2 separate regions of the Homo sapiens genome follow, and region 2 is linked to region 1. The links are contacts of gene promoters, found by promoter capture Hi-C in blood cells and fetal thymus (Javierre and others, 2016). All regions are on one chromosome and are shown on one strand. Each heading gives the region's core, a stretch centred on a gene start or on the middle of the fragment in contact. The rest is flanking DNA. Distances are from core to core; before and after follow the strand shown.

Evidence for each region. Contacts are between HindIII fragments. The CHiCAGO score rates a contact against its expected background, and 5 or more counts as called.
Region 2: a contact is called between a fragment that was not itself captured here and the fragment with the promoter of IDH3B in region 1, in 4 of 17 cell types (naive CD4 T cells, total CD8 T cells, total CD4 T cells and 1 more). The highest score is 5.7, in naive CD4 T cells.

What each region holds. Positions count from the first base shown.
Region 1 is chr20:2,662,905-2,665,604 of GRCh38, reverse strand. IDH3B (isocitrate dehydrogenase (NAD(+)) 3 non-catalytic subunit beta) reads left to right here and starts at 1,389. Exons shown (of 12, transcript NM_006899.5): 1 at 1,389-1,452; 2 at 1,600-1,680; 3 at 1,847-1,945; 4 at 2,039-2,159. The coding sequence starts at 1,417. It overlaps IDH3B-DT (IDH3B divergent transcript), which reads right to left and starts at 1,331. Exons shown (of 3, transcript NR_186432.1): 1 at 999-1,331; 2 at 101-347. RefSeq lists enhancers at 1-751, 2,325-2,700. The HindIII fragment of the contact is 11,157 bases long and covers 1-2,700 here.
Region 2 is chr20:2,983,080-2,985,779 of GRCh38, reverse strand. All of the region lies in intron 6 of PTPRA (protein tyrosine phosphatase receptor type A), which reads right to left. Among named protein-coding and RNA genes, the nearest start is that of GNRH2, 59 kb to the left of the region's middle. The HindIII fragment of the contact is 1,275 bases long and covers 741-2,015 here.

The DNA.
Region 1 (2,700 bases), core at 140-2,639:
TTCTTAAATTTCAGTGTGTATTAACGGGGAGCCTGTTAGAGATATATTTTCTGGGCCCCCATCACTGAGATTTGGATTCAGCAAATGAAGTATGACTCACAAGCCTGCACTTTTAACAAGAGCTCTGGTCCATCTGGATAGGTGATCCAAAACCATACTTCCAGAAGAGCGGGTGAGGCAAATCTTCCTGTACCAGTTTGTCTTTAGGTGTGTCAATTGTACACACCTAAAATCGTGACTGGAGGCCGGGCTTGGTGGCTCACGCCTGTAATCCCAGCACTTTGGGAGGCCGAGGCGGGCGGATCACGACGTCAGGAGATCGAGACCACGGTGAAACCCCGTCTCCACTAAAAATACAAAAAAAAAAAAAAAAAAAAAAAAAAATTAGCCAGGTGTGATGGCGGGCGCTACTCGGGAGGCTGAGGCAGGAGAATGGGGTGAACCCAGGAGGCGGAGCTTGCAGTGAGCCGAGATCGCACCACCGCACTCCAGCCTGGGCGACAGAGCGAGACTCTGTCTCAAAAAAAAAAAAAAAAAAATCGTGACTGTAATTGTTTTGAGACGGGTCTCGCCCCGTCTCCCAGGCTGGAGTGCAGTGGTGCCATCACGGCTCACTACGGCTTCCACCTCCCGGGCTTAAGTGATCCTCCCACCTCAGCCTCCTAAGTAGCTGGGACTACAGGTGTGTCACCACGCCTGGCTAATTTTTAAATTTTTTGTAGAGTCGAGGTCTCCCTATGTTGTCCAGGCTTTTTTTAGTTTTTATGATTGTTACTTTAAGGATCAGTCTGAAATTCCCTTTAGTCACACTTACACGCTTGAACTCATTTCTGACACTAGTTATGGGCCTGTCCTGGGGAGTTCAAGTCCGGGACACACTATTAGGGAAATAACTGTCAGAGCAAAGAACAAAACCCTGTAAGAAAAAACTACGAGGCGACGGGTAATACAGAGGTCCTGGGCACTCTCGGAGACTGGCGGAGAAACCCGACACACACCTCCCATGTCTGTACTGTATTCCTCGAGAGCCTGACATACAGGTATTCAGTGAGTACTGGTTAAAAGAATAACAAACGCATTGACACACAAATTTTAACAGCTTCCCAAGGATTTTCTCTCAATCGCTTGTTAAGCTCAGGTCCTCGTCTGATAAACATGACGCTACATTTTTCCCCCTAATGTTATTTTGAAGTTTCGACGTAGATTAAATATGGCGACTGAAAACAAAGCAAGAGACAAAGTGCTTGCGCATCCCATGACCTCCCCACCGGCAAGGAAAAGGAGAAACAGGCGTGAGCAAGCAGTGCTGGTTGGCGCAGAGAGAGAAATACCAGGAACTCAGTACAGGCCGGAAGTCGGGGTACGGGGCCGCGCCAGCTTCAGGCGTCACTTCCCACGCGACTTCCTGCGGGAAACATGGCGGCATTGAGCGGAGTCCGCTGGCTGACCCGAGTGAGGCCCCGGGACATGTCGGGCAGGGGCGGGCGAAGGAGCGGAGAGTTTGTCCTAGGGTTTCCTAAACAGGGCAAAGTCAACTGTAGTGTTCGGGGTCTGGATGTCTCAAAGCTGACCTTACAGGCTTGTGTGTCCCTGTTGCAGGCGCTGGTCTCCGCCGGGAACCCTGGGGCATGGAGAGGTCTGAGTACCTCGGCCGCGGCGCACGCTGCATCGCGGAGCCAGGTATGCACGAATCTGGCTGGGGTCTCTCTTACGACCCTGTCCCTTCCTCGCTGCTCCCTCCCCTGGCTTTTCCCCACCCCTCCCGGGTCTCCCTACTTCTCTACTCCCAGGATCCGTGCTCCCGCCCCAGCTCTATCTTTACTTCTCCCCTCTTCCCCCAATTGAGGCCGAGGACGTGAGGGTGGAGGGCTCCTTTCCCGTGACCATGCTTCCGGGAGACGGTGTGGGGCCTGAGCTGATGCACGCCGTCAAGGAGGTGTTCAAGGTGAGTGGCCTCGGGGATCAGACAGTAGAGGACAGTAGTGTGTTGGAAAGGACTTGGCCTTGACTGTGATGTTTTGGGAACCTGTCTCTGAAGGCTGCCGCTGTCCCAGTGGAGTTCCAGGAGCACCACCTGAGTGAGGTGCAGAATATGGCATCTGAGGAGAAGCTGGAGCAGGTGCTGAGTTCCATGAAGGAGAACAAAGTGGCCATCATTGGTATGTGTGCCCTCTTGCCACTTGTCCATGTGCCATTTAAAATCAAATGACCAAATGTTTATTAAGCCCTTCTCCCCACATGCTATGCAATTATATTAACTCCAGGGCAACCACCATTGGTATTTGGACATTTGTTCCTTCCCATTGGGAGCCCAGGAGTTGAGAGATCATGTCAGCTGTCTATGCAGAAAAGTTCCAGGGGTTCTGAGTCTGTCCTGAGGCTACATCAACTGTCATCAAATCTTATTCATTGCATTTCTGGAATACCACTTTTAGCTGCCCCTTTTCTTTTTTTTTTTTTCCCCTCCCTTCCTTCCTCTTTGTTTCTTCTTGCTCTGTCGCCCAGGCTGGAGTGCAGTGGCGCGATCTCGGCTCACTGCAACCTCCCCGTCCCTGGTTCAAGCAATTCTCCTGCCTCAGCCTCCTGAGTAGCTGCGACTACAGGTGTGCACCACCACACCCAGCTAATTTTTGTGTTTGTTTTGTTTTAAGACAGAGTCTCGCTCTGTCGCCCAGGCTGGAGTGCAATGTTGCCATCTCA
Region 2 (2,700 bases), core at 129-2,628, 320 kb before region 1:
AATAAAACAAGGAGACATTATTAGATCCTCAGCCACCATGTAACAAAACTGCTGGTTGCTTCTTTTTTCCTCTTTCCACACCCTGCTCCCTTAGTCACCTTTTGCCAGGACCCCAACCATGGCAACATCTGGTTTGAAGACATGGCAATCCCACCTCATTCCACAGGGCCTGGCTCCCTTTCACCCAATACCTAGCCTTGTTTTCTCATGCAGCTGGCCAGGCACTGACTCATCCGCCTCCACTCTCACCCTCCACCCGACTCCATGAACTACACCATCAGAGTGGCTTGGTAACTATCTTCACCATTTTCCTACCTGCTAAAAGGGAAGACAAGTCTCTTCCATCCTGTCATGTGTGCTCTGGATTACATCCACTGCTGTCAACTCAAAGACTTGTCTTCTTGACCTCATTTACCCTCCCCCAGCTACCACCAGCCTCGCGTCTCTCTTCTCAGCTGACTTTCCGAAACACAGTTGTCTAATTCGTCTTGTCTAATTCCTTACCTTCAGGTTCTCCTTAATCTATTTGCCCTGACTCCCACCCTCAGTGCTCTGTTTAAACTGCTCAGCCAGAACACCAACAAATGGCATATTGCCAAATCCAACAGGAACATTCCCATCCTCATCTGATTCAACCTTTTAGCAGCATTCATTCAAATATCTGTGGGCCAGCAATTGCATGCCATTGTTTGAGACACTAGGAACAGAGAAGTGTTCAAGGAGACAAGTGATAGAAAGCTTCCATTCTGTGGGGAGGAAGGAAGACACTGTTTATAAACAAGTCAATACTTAATTTTAGACAGGGACAAGTGCTATGAGGAATAAAAAGCAGGGTGGGGAGAGAGAAAGTGACAGGTTGGGGAGCAGTGATACAGTGGTCTGGGAAGGTCTCTCTGAGGAAGTAATATACAAGCAGAGCTCTAAATAACGTGAAGTGAACCACGCAAAGATCTGGGTGAAGAGCTTTCTAGACACTGGGAACAGCAAGCATGGTAGCTCTCAGGAGCTTGGCAGGTTCAAGAAACAGCACAAAGGCCAGTTCAATATAAGATGCCAGAGAGGTGGGCAAAAGCCAGCAGACTTAGGACTTGGGAGTCCATTGTAATGATTGTGGATTTAATTCTGAGTGTGATGAGAAACACTATGTCATCGAAGGGCTTTGAACAGAGGAGATATATAACTGGATTTACATTCTGTTAAAAGCTAAACTGACCCATAAGCAGTAGCCATGAGGTGAGAGGTTAATCTAAGAATGTAGTGTCATAGAAGCCAAGAGCAGAGTTTTTCAAGGAGGGAGCAATCAATTCAATCAAATACTGCCTACAGACTTAAGAAGGATGAGACAGAGAAGTGAAACCAGATTTGACAAGACGGTGGCTACTGGTGACCTTTCCAAGAGTATTTTCAGTTGAATATGGGTGAGAAAGCCTAAATGGAGTGAAATAAAGATAGAAAAAGGACAGTGAGACACTGGGTCCTTTCGTGGGGACTTTTAACATTAAGGGATGCAGAGGAAAGGAATGACAGATGGAGGGAGATGTGAGTGAGGTGGACAGATGGGTTTTTTTTGGTTTTGTTTTTAGAGATGGAAGACATTACATGACGCTTCTTTGTTAATGGTAAGTTTCAAACATACTGTGGTATGTGGCTCTCACCTTAAAATGAGTGTTCAGACTGGCTGATCACTCCTTCCTCTCTGAAGCACTTTCCTCTCTTAGCTTTCCACAACGAAACACTCCTCTGATTTTCCTTCTATCTCGTCTGCCCATCTCAGTTTCCCTCACTATCTGTTCCTCTTCCAACACCAGATCTCTAAATGTGGGAATTCCTCAGGGCTCTGTCCTTGGCACTCTTCTCTATATCTAGTTAATCTGATCAGAGAGATGACTGTAAATATAAATGCCATGCTAGCAATTCCCACAGTTGCTTTGCTTGATCAGACCTCTTTTCTGAGTTCCAGATTCTCAACTGCCTATTTGCCACCTCCACTTTAAATTTCATAGGCAACACAAGCTTTCTGTGTTTAAAACCTTTCCCTCACCATTCAGTAGCTAGTACTCCAACCCACCCTGTTGCTCAAGTAAGAAATGTGGAAACCCCCTTGATTTCTTCCTCACACTTATCTTCTATATCTAGCACAGCTGCAAATAATATATTTTGGAGATATATCTAAAACTTCAAATCTGTCTGCCTTTTTTTTTTTTTTTTTTTGCATTTTTTTTATTGCCACCAGTGTAGTCCCAACCTCCATCCTCTCTCACCTGGATCACAGTAAGCCTCTGCCCCTGCCAATCCATTCTCCACAAAGCAGAGTGATCTCTAGGAAAGCAACTCAGGTTGTGTCCCACTCTTAGGTAAAACCCTCCAACAGTTTCTCATGCCTCAGAATGAAATCTAATCTCCTTATCCTGGACTCTAACAACCCCCTCGATTTAGCCCCTACCTGCCCTATCTCTTGCACTCTTTCCTTGCTCACTCAATTTCAGCCACTGGTGTCCTTCCATGCTTTCATTCATTCATCCTCAGGCCTTTGAGCATGTTATTCCTTCTGCTTTACACAGCCTCTCTCTGTTCTTTGCCTGGTTATCTCCTACTTGTCTGGTTCTCTGTGTGTCACTTTTCCCACACAGGTCTTCTCTGACTTCCTAATACTAAATTAGGATCATAAGTCTCAGTTTCCTCATTTCTGAAATAAGTTAT